2 separate regions of the Homo sapiens genome follow, and region 2 is linked to region 1. The links are contacts of gene promoters, found by promoter capture Hi-C in blood cells and fetal thymus (Javierre and others, 2016). All regions are on one chromosome and are shown on one strand. Each heading gives the region's core, a stretch centred on a gene start or on the middle of the fragment in contact. The rest is flanking DNA. Distances are from core to core; before and after follow the strand shown. Region 1 holds the start of TBRG1 (transforming growth factor beta regulator 1). Region 2 has its middle 14 kb from the start of VWA5A.

Region 1 (5,555 bases), core at 2,074-4,573:
TGCCTCTAGGAAAGACTAAATGGAATGCAACCCAGAGAGTTGGGGGAAGGGGGAAGTCTCAGTCTGCTCCCCTTGCATTTAACGAAGTCTAGCTCGAATTTCTCCACCCAAAGTGGCTCTAATACATTTGACATTTGTTTTCTCAAGGGCTCCTAGGGCTCCTTAAGAACCAGATGAGACTCTAAGTACATCTGCAGCTGTGTGTGTCTGTCAGTTAGTACCAGGTCTAACTGTCATTAGTAGGTGAGTCACTGGGGCAACTGATATCATCTCCCCAAAGTACCTTCCAGTTTGTTGTTCTCTTTGCCTTTTTCTTTTTTCTCCTTCTTAGTTTTCTTCCCAAATGGTTCCTCAGCCCCAGTGCTGGGCCCTGAAATAGGCCCAGCTCCCTGTATAGTTCCCACAGAGCTGGCCACACCATAAGTCAGGGGCAAACTGGAACTGTGGGAAGGAGCTGCAGCCTGTACTTCCCCTTCAGTTAGAGCCTGAAGCTGGAGGAGCTTCTTTAGCAAGTACCTGAGATCAGGAAGGAAAGGAGCAGAGAAATGAACTTCCGTATTGTCTCAATTCAGTATTTTACTCAAGTACTGGGAAAAGCCAGAATTATATACAAAGATTACTATACTCATAAAAGAAAGGTTCTTATTAGGCCCTATGAATCATAAAGCCCTGGAGGATAATCAATACTTCAAGAGGCCAAGGATAAGAACTGTAGCTTATCTCTTGCATCTGGACGGTTCCTCTACCTTGATGTTGGACGGTGTTAGGCTTCTGAAAGGCACATTATTTACACATGTATATATACCCATTGTGCTTTGCACAGAATAGTACGTACAGAATAAATATTTGTAGAACGAGAGGCAGTTGCTTTTATCACTTGGCTTTTATAATTGGGCCATAAGATTAAATAATCTTAGTAAGATTATTTATTAGATGTGGCAAGATGGCTTTTTCAGAAAGATGAGTAGAGGAGCTGTCTCATCGCCATGGCCCAACATAACTTGGGTGTGCAGGCACCAATGCCTCAGGCTGTAAGTTTCTCTGTGCTTGATCAAGTGGCCAAGGGGCTGTGCGATACGCATCAATCCCACTGGGAAAAAAAGTCTCCAGAGCAGTAACACCATTATCAATCACCAAATCAATCACCAAAAAGGTGATGCTGAACACAAAATGAAGCCAGCTCACCTTCTTTCTTCTTTTGCTTTAAGAAATTTTTCCTCAAGACGAGCAATTTCATCACAAATAGCAGCATTTTCCTTTAAGTAAAAATGTGAATATAATAACATAAAATGAATAAAAAAATCACATTATTATGCTGGGAAGAGGATCCATATTTCAAACCAAAAAAGCTTGTATTACTGAGAAGAAGGAGCTATTCGACCGTGTGACAAACTATAAATAAATCCATAGATAAAGGTAGTCAGGTTCTACTATGGACAGGGTATAGCTATGTAATTTATTATCCAATCCGGGACATCTTTGAGTGAAAAGGGGGTACTATTAATGCTTATGCCAGAACAATACGGTGAACCAGGACTGTCCTGGGCAAGCCAAGATTAATGGTCACCCTAATTAGTATAGCCTTTGGCAAAGAAAAAGGCATACTGCTTAAATCCTTATATGCTTAAATTAAATACTATAAATATGAAAACTGTCTATTCCCAAGTGCCTCAACTCTTGAAAAACTTACAAAGCCAGTCTAACCCAAATAGAGAAAAACTGGACAGAACAAAATCAAATTTAGTGTGTAAAATTCTTAAACTTCACAATCTACTTATACGAATTCAAGTATTATCTTTTTTCTTTTTTTTTTTTTTTTTTTTGTAAATGATGACTCAATCTATCTCCCAAGCACCAATCCTGAAGGGAATGCTGAATCTGAATGCCCCCATAGGTGGAACTTCAAACTCTCAATGTTCAAAACAACATCGCTTTTTCTTCACAAAATCTTCATTATGTATTTGATGGAACCAATATCCTTGAAATAACATAAATTCCAAGCTTTAGGTACCTTTGACGTATAGGGGATAAAAGAAAGGGAACAGTCAATCAGATGCTAAGTTCTCTTAGTTTTACTTTTCTTGTTTCTCTCCAGTGCAAATAGCAAGCAATACACATAGCAAGTGCTGAATAAGTGCTTTTGGAATGTGTATTCTAATTTCTGAACCTTTCCTTATGCTTCCAAAAATGCTGAGAGACGTTCAAGCTTTTGGTAGAGAGAAGAGATGAACTGTTGACTTGGATGTGGGGGGACATTTGAGGACTCCACCCCTATTTCCAAGCACTGAGGCAAGCCAAACTATTCTAATATAAAGTTATGGCTGGCAAGCTATATTAAGTTTATTCACTCAATAAATCCAGTGCTTCTACAATAAAAGAAAGGAAGAAACACTTGGAACACTCAAAGGTTAGAGGGGGGAAATTACTGACAGTTTCATGTACCTCTTTGGGCAAAGGGTCAGTTATGGGGATTTGAGGTGCTCAGAAAATAGTCTGTGTACTGGAAGTCATAAAACGGAATCAGGTTTATCTAAGTTGGAGTCAGGGCTCTGACACAGTACCCTTGGGCAAATCATCTCTCTGGGCTTCAGTGTTCTCATTTTACAAATAATGCCTAATTCTCAGGGCTGTATCTCGAGAATCAAACACATTTCCTAGAGTCCTGCAGTAACAACGATGACTAAAATTTATTGGTATGTCTTTTACGCACCAAGCACTTTTCTTTACTCATTTAATATTCATTATTCTGCAAGACAGTTACTAGCTCATTTACAGATGAGGACACAGAGAAATTACGTAATTTGTCCAAGGACACAAGGCTAACAAGTAGTAACGTATACGGAAAAGCCAACACTGTATTAATACTGTCACACTGGGAAGGGGGAACAGCTTGGGGAAAGATTTTGTGAGGGAGTCTCCAGGAGGGGACCGGCTGAACGTGGGTCAGACTCACAAACACCGTGGCCTTGGCCGCTTTGCGCAGCCGCAGGTACTTCAGCCGGTACTTCTCATTCTGGCTCTTCTTCGGGAGCTTTTTCATCCTGGCCTTGCTGGACTGCAGCGGAGCCCGCGGCGAGGAAGCGAGGCCGTCCAGCAGGCTCATGGTCCAGCCCCGCTACGGGGGCCCCAGGACGCTGCCGGCATCGGATCCTAAGTCGGGGAGCGGGCGGGAGCGCTGGCTTTGTCTGTTCCGGGCTAGCGGAATCGGGCCTCTAGGAATCTAGCTCTCCGGGACGTTCCCAGGGCTGACCGCAGGGCCAGAGACACCCGCAACCGAACGGGCTCCCGGCGCCTCCCAGCACTTCCGTGTCTGTCTTGGAAGTAAGCCCTTCCCGGAAGTTACGTCCCGGTGTCGGCAGTGTGTAACTTCCGGGGCAGGGAGAGTAGGGTGGTCTGGGCGGTGCGATCGTGGGCACCGGGAGGAAAGAGACAGCTGGGGGCTAGTGCTGGATGAGGAGAGGAGGGAGGGCCGGCGGCCGTGTGCTTAGCTGAAGGGTACTATAGTTGAACCAACGAACTAACAAGAAGCTTACCAATGCGAGCTCTCATTCACGCTCCCCCGCTGGGCCACTGCGTTTTAATACGTTTTTCATGCTTCGTGCAGACAGGCTTTCCCAGACTGTAGGACAAAGTGAGCCCAAGTGCTGGGACTCTGCTTCTTTCCCTGCTTCGTTCCTTTCTGCAGCTCACAGAAATGTGTTTGCAGGGCCTCCTAATGCTATCATCTTCCCAGGAGCTGGGAACACAGTAGTGAACAGGAAGAAAGGCCTTGGCTCTTTCTAGTAGGGAAGATGAGAGATTTAACACGCAGTTTTAATACTAGCACTAAGTAGGCACTCAGTAAATGTTTGTCTAGTGAAACCAGAAGTGTATTTCTGTACATAATATGTACATGTATATGGTTCTAACTTTACAACCAAGGTCTATTTAAAATTAGGGAAGATAGAAAAATCTTTAGGGTGCGGTATTGGTAAGTGACCCAGGCTGGATGGCAGAAGGCTTGCTTGCATCTTCTTCCAGCGATGCCAATAACTAGTTCAGTAACTCTCTAGTTTTTTCTCTCAAAAAAAAAATTTGCTGTTCTGCTGTATTTTGTCCTTGCGGGCTTTGGGGTCTGACTTTATTTGTATTATTTATTTTCATATACATGTATCACATCTAGGGGGAAGAAAAGTGCTATCCTTTGTCCTAGTTTGCAGGCTGTTTTGGCCAATGGACTTTAGTGGGATTTGCATGAAGATATTTTTTGTTTCTTCTTCATTGGACACATTTCCTTACACTTACAAAACATTTCATTCGAACTTTAGAAATTTAGAAAATATAGTACAAGAAAGGTTTAAAAATCCATAATGCTACCACTTGGAATGAACTACTTTTACCATGTTAGTATATGTGTCTAATATTTTATGCATTTTTGTATAGGTTAGACAATACTGAAAATAAAGTTTTCTTTTTGTTCATTTACCATTGTATCATTTCAGTTTCACAAATGTTAGTATAGCTTCCTTATAAGCATAATTTTAAGTGGCTGGTTAATATTCCAGTTATGGCTATATTATATTTTGCATAATTATTTCCATGTTCTTTGACTTTTTGGTCAATTCCATTAAAAGCATATCTTTGCGTCCAAAGCTTTTTCCATATAGGACTGTTCAGAGGCTGGATATGTGTGCTCCACAAAGGTCATGCCACTGAGCAACTCATTCAGTCCTTATTTGTTTAGAAGAATATTTACCTAGTGCCTATTATGATACCACCTTTAAGAACCTTAATTTAAGAAGGAAAGACAGACAAGTAAATTGGCAATGTTAATATGGTATAATAAGTTTGTTTCAGAGGTAGGTTTTATTTTATTTGGCAGCACTCAGGGAAGGAGGGAGGAGATAGGAAAGGTTTCTTAAAGGAGATACATCTGGGCAGACTCTGAAGGAGAGGTAGTGGTTGGTTGGCCCAGTGAAGAACAAAGGGGGGCATGCTGGATGGTGGAGACAGCATATGCAAAGGCTCAGTATGGGAACTGCAAGTAGTTGATCAGTGTGAAAGATGTGTGTAGAGAGAAGCAAGAAGAGAGACTGAAGCAGTAAGTAGGGTTTTTTGGGTCATGAAAAGTCTTGTGTACCAACTGAAGAGTTGGACTTTGACCCAGTGACAATAGGAAACCATCTATCAGCTCTTTGCTTGTGTTAGGTAAACTTACCTGAATCTGTCAGAAGCAACACAACTTTTCTACTTAACTATACGAAGAAGGGTCTAAATGGCCTATGCAAAAATTCTTTAAAGAAATGCATAATGTGTAGCTCTAAAAAGAAATATAAAATGGCAGACAGCATGATATTGTGTCTGAGTGTGGTCTTTGAAGTCAGACCAAAGTTCCATTAACTACAGGCATAGGAATGGGAGTTAGAAGCTAAAATAGGGTAATAAATCAGAAGAGAAAGAAGTTCAATAGCACTTTACTGTCTACCCATTTGTAAGTGCTTGCTATTCAGTGATTAGCTGTAAGGGAAGGCATAGTATCCTCTGGAGTATTAAAAGCATACCTGGCTCCGTTAACA
Region 2 (5,555 bases), core at 1,651-4,150, 520 kb after region 1:
TATAGATTCCTGTACCACATAGCTACCCTAAGTGACCTCTTTTTACTCATCCTGCAATTTACTCATCCTAATTACCTCTCTCCAGAGCTCATGATACAAAGAAGTTGTCTGATAAATAACTGGTAAAATAAGTACTGACATAGGTTATGTCTATATACAGTCATCCCTCAATATTCATGGGTTCTGCCTTTGTGAATTCAACCATTGTGGATCAAAAATATTCAGAAAGTAAATTTTACAAAGTTCCAAAAAGCAAAATTTGAATTTGCCTCGCTTGAGTACTACATTGAATTCATGTGCATGAAATGGTGGTAGGCATTGTATTAAGTATTATAAGTAATCTAGAGATGATTTAAAGTATACAGGAGGATGTGCATAGGTTATATGCAAACACTACACCATTTTAAATAAGGGACATGAGTATACTTGGATCGTGGTATTTATGAGGGTCCTAAAACCAATGCTCTGAGGATACTGAAGGACAACTGTATTGACTTTATTATTATCTCCACTTACTCTATTCTACTACCCAATATTCCCACCTGCAGATGGTGGAACTGAGATACAGCAATAAGTGTCTTCCTTGTGTACTACATTCAGTTATGCTAAAGCCAGCCCTAGACACAAGCCCTCTTAAGTCCTACTGTGTCATGGTTTTCCTACTGCATCACACTGCCAATATGTCAAAATACTCTTTAGTGTAAACGCAGGGGGAAAGTCTTTCCATCCAGTGTTGTTGAAGACAAGATGGTCTAATTATGGGGCTTAATTGGCATGCTCATTTGATTCTCCCAGCAAGTTACTTTTTGTAACTTAACTTCCAACAAGACTGGAGTTGATAACTGTTTCTCGACTTTCTCAGAATCTAAAGTGAAAGAAATGGTACTATTAATTGGGGATCCCACAGACACGCCAGCTCCTAGTTTCCATGACATTTTAGTTATTTGTAGTTTTTCTATTCCATTTATAGTCCCCAAAGTTCCCTTCGTATTTGAAACCAGTAAACAAAAACAAGTAAAAATCTCTAATAAAAATGCTTACTTTACAAATAGCATGAAGCAAAAAGGATAAAATGAAGCTCCTTCAAGCATAGTTAAACGGTTTTATTGCAATAGGAGGATTCTATGGCTCCTCCTAACTTGATTGGCAAAAATCCAAGATGTCATAGCATCTTATTCCCACACTTTGGAGATGCCTATCAGAGATGATATGCTGGATTCAAATAACCCTAGTGTTAGTTTGCTGTTCTACTAGTGCAGGGTATTTGTAGAAGAATCTACATGTCATGATATCTGGTAAAGCCTGAATAGTGTTTAGGGACAGATGTTCAACACACTGATACTTCTATAACAGATTTCTTTTCTAGACAATGGAAAGTTTCATAAAAGTAGGGATTATGTGTGTCTTGCTCACCATTGTATCCATAGGACATAGCCCAGTGACATAGTAAGCTTCCAGTGTAGGTTTGCTGAATGAATGAATGGATAGCTCTTTACCCATTCAAATTGTGATGCAATTGTATATTTATCGATACAGAGGAACGTGTGCGAAATAATTAAGATACAGAATAATATTATGTCTGAATTTAAATATATATTCATGTTTAGGTAAAACTGATGATATATAAAAAACAAAATCTGAATGACCAACTTTTTGGCTTTTTCTAAATTAGTCTTGCAATGACTGGCACTGAAAAGAGAAACTTTAACCATTTAAATCTTTCCTATATCTAAAAGCACACAACATGAGATTTTATTTAAAACACATGTGCACACATACATAAACACACACAGACACACATATTCACTTTTTAAAATCTTACCTCATTAACAACAACAGCAACAAAAGCAAATAACCTGATTGAAAAATGGGTAAGGGACTTAAATAGACATTTATCCAAAGAAGAGACACAAATGGCAAATAAGTATATGGAAAGATGTTCAATATCACTGAGCATTGAGGAAATGCAAATTAAAACCACAATGACATATCACTTCAATAAGGATGGCTACTATTTTAAAAATTACAATAGTAATAAGCTTGGGCTATGATGTGATAAATTGGAACCCTTGTACACTAATGACGAGAATGTAAAATGGTGCAGATGATATGGAAAACAGTATTGTATTTTCTTAAAAAAGTAAAAACAGAATTACCATATGATCCAGCAATTCCAGCTCTTGCTATACATACAAAAGAAATAAAAGCAGGGTCTTGAAGATACATTTGTACACCCACGTTCCTAGCAGCATTAATCACAATAGGCAAGAGTCGAAAGCAACCCAGTATTCATTCAATGAATGGATACACTAAATGTGGTATATACACACAACAAAACATTATCCAGACTTAAAAAGAAAGGAAGTTCTGACACATGCCACAACATGGATAAGCCTCAAGGACATTATGCTAAGTGAAATAAGCCAGTCACAAAAAGACTGTTTAAATCCAGTAACATGAGGTACCTAGGGTAGTCACATTCATGGAAAAAGAAATTAGAATGCTGGTTCCCAGGAGCCACAGATGTTGGAAGGAAATGGAGAAGTTGTTTAATGGTAATAGAGTTTCAGTTCTGCAAGATGAAAAAGTCCAGGAGATTAGTTGAGCAACAATGTAGATAGTCAAGCAACAATGTAAATAAACTTAGCACTACTGTACTATATATTTCAAAATGGTTAAGATGTTAAATTTTATGCTTTGTGTATTTTACCACAATTTTCTTTTTCTGAGACAGAATCTTGCTCTGTTACCGAGGCTGGAGTGCAGTGGTGCAATCATGGTTCACTATAGCCTGGACCTCCCCACTCAAGAGATCCTCCCACCTCAGCCTCCAGAGCATCTGGGACTATAGGTGTGCACCCCACATCCAGACAATTTTTGAAATTTCTTTTAGAGATGAGATCTCATTATGTTGCCCCCAGGCTGGTCTCAAACTCCTGGGCTAAAGTGATCCTCTCATATTGGCCTTTCAAAGTACTGGGCTTACAGATGTGAGCCACCACACCTGGCCTACATTTTTTTTAAAGTTTGCTTATGCAGTTTTCGCACATTCTGTGGCTTATTAGTTATCTCCTTTTTCCTGTAACTACGTCTACTGTAGTTGAACCCTCTCAAATCACTATTTCTTTATTTTTTATACCTCCATTTGGTGTGGGCAGAGAAAGAGTTTGAGAAGTGTAGTCTAAGGTAGCTTTTCAGAAGATCTGCCTAGAGTAATAAGTTACCATTCATTGAGTCCTTATTCCTCACCAGGCACTGCGTAATTGCTTTTTATATATTATCTAATGTAATTTACCTATGAGTTCTATGAGATCATTTTACAGAAGATGAAATGAGATTTAGGGATGTTAGGTAATTTTCTTTAAGCCACACAATTAGTTTGTGGATGTAGATGGGAATCTGTCTCAGATCTTCATGCAGCTATGCACAATACAGCAAATTTGATGAAACTTTAGAAATAAACATTTGGCCTTCCACACCCCCCTCAAAAAAAAACTTACCCCAACTTCTTTTTTTCCTTTCAATCTCTCAGATGCGTGAAAGCTCATCTGAGAGAAAACTCATTTGTAATAAAATATTCGAATCCCACAGAGTGGGGTACGATTATGCTCATTCTTATCTTGTTACTATCCTCTGTTGGTTCTAATCCTCTGGGTATTCCCAGAAGATACCGTGTGGGGCTTTACCTGATAATTAGAGTTAAAACATGGTTTGTAGTGCACATTCAGGTATAGAAACGTAAGGCAGAAAATGAAGCTTTGTTCTGACATTGTCACACGAGGCTAAAGCAGGGCCTTAACCCACACACATTCCCCGCAGCATTTCTCTGCCCTAGTGATTATCTTTCCTCTTTTTTTCCTGACCAAATATCTCAAAATTCTATAGCCCAGTGATCTTCCTTATTTGTCTCCCTGAAGGTGCTCTTGCGCCCTACAACTGCTCTCCTGACTGTAGCTAGAATTATCTTTCACATTCTCTCTTCCACAATGTGCCGAAACTCAATGCTGCTTAAAACTGTCTTACATTTTCTTAAGCCCCCTAATGTAGAGATCGCAATCTTTAAAGAGCAGAGCCTTTAGTCATCATTTGCTTTTCTGCCTCTCAAGTTTTATCTCAATTTTTTTCCTCTCTTTCCTCAAGTTCTTCAAATATACTTTACATCTTTCCAATGAAGGCTTTGCGCATGCTATTACCCCCGCCTAGAAAGGTTTTCACTTTCAGATCTCAGCTGGGATAACAGTTTCTCAGGGAAGTCCCCTTCTACCTTCAGGGAACATCAGCTAGCCATATAAATCATGATGTGGATACATATTTAATTTACTGATATGAAAGAGGAACATGAGTAGGATACAAATACTCTACCACGATAGCTTTTCAATCCACAGCACTTCTTCCTAGCCCTTACCGCCTTAAATAATTATCATTTATATATGTAGGATTATTTGACCAATGCCTCTCTTCTTCTACTAGACTGTAAGCTCATTGAGGACAGAGACTTTGGCTAGTTCCTGTTCACCAGAACATGGCTGTTTTTGTGTATGTTGGTAGCTGTAATAAATTTTTGACTTAATAAAGGCTAAAATGACCTCAATAAAATCTCTGATTTGTTCATGTAAACTTTTCTCCTCTTGTAGCCTTTTCTTAGCTTCTTATCTGCTTCAGATTTCTTAAACATTATTATAATTAGTTCTAAATTACTAAAATCCTTCCCTCCATCATGTCTTCCTGCCCAGTCTTCAGTGAGCTCACCTGCTTGTTCCATTCACACACCCACCTTGTTATGCTCTTTTAGAGAAAAATCACAAACCAAGCAGGTCAGCAACCCTATAAATTTATTATTGTCTACCTCTAGTGTTTGCTAGCAGTTTTAATACTTTTCTTCTACAGTATTGATCCTATTTCTTACCAGAATGACTATACATGAGTTTGGGGTCTCAAACTTCTACTTAACTTCTAGGCTCTCACTCACAAAGAATGAAAATCGAAATCACCAGCAAATGGAGAATGAAAAGATCAGCAAGATCTCAATATTCCCAGTCATAAAGTTCTCTGGGAAAATGAGTGGAAAATGTGGCTTAATCCAAGCCTAAGTGGAGACTCTTCTTTCTAGGCTGAATTGGAGACAGCAGGACCTGCGGCCCAAGAGCTACCTGATTTATTCCACCTGTCACAGTGGGAAAGCTGAAGCCAGGAGAGAAGGGAAGAATGATGGTGTCCCCCACTAGTTCTCTGTAATCTTTACCCTTTCTCTGTCCCATATTGAGAGCCTAGGTCAAGTACACCATGTCATCATTTAGTTGTCTATATGACTTTTACTATTGTGCACAGTGCTGTATGCATTGCAAGGTTTTGTGAATGAATATTAGTTTCTAAAAAATTAAATTTCCTACTGGATAATTTTTTTTTACATAACTTTCCTAATGTAACCTTCATCTGTTGAAGAAAATTGAAATCCTGAGTACATGGTTTTGCTGTGTAAAGTTAAATGAAACGAAAATTTAAAAATTTGTATTTCTTTGCAATCAGTATATTGAAGGGATATCTGCTTGCTCATG

Evidence for each region. Contacts are between HindIII fragments. The CHiCAGO score rates a contact against its expected background, and 5 or more counts as called.
Region 2: a contact is called between a fragment that was not itself captured here and the fragment with the promoter of TBRG1 in region 1, in 3 of 17 cell types (erythroblasts, total B cells and naive B cells). The highest score is 7.7, in erythroblasts.

The regions. Positions count from the first base shown.
Region 1 is chr11:124,620,632-124,626,186 of GRCh38, reverse strand. It overlaps TBRG1 (transforming growth factor beta regulator 1), which reads right to left and starts at 3,323. Exons shown (of 9, transcript NM_032811.3): 1 at 2,954-3,323; 2 at 1,186-1,256; 3 at 284-516. The coding sequence starts at 3,103. It overlaps LOC124902779 (a long non-coding RNA gene), which reads left to right and starts at 2,986. Exons shown (of 2, transcript XR_007062932.1): 1 at 2,986-5,555. RefSeq lists an enhancer at 3,177-3,246. The HindIII fragment of the contact is 1,322 bases long and covers 2,209-3,530 here.
Region 2 is chr11:124,098,963-124,104,517 of GRCh38, reverse strand. No RefSeq gene overlaps it. Among named protein-coding and RNA genes, the nearest start is that of VWA5A, 14 kb to the left of the region's middle. The HindIII fragment of the contact is 1,717 bases long and covers 2,042-3,758 here.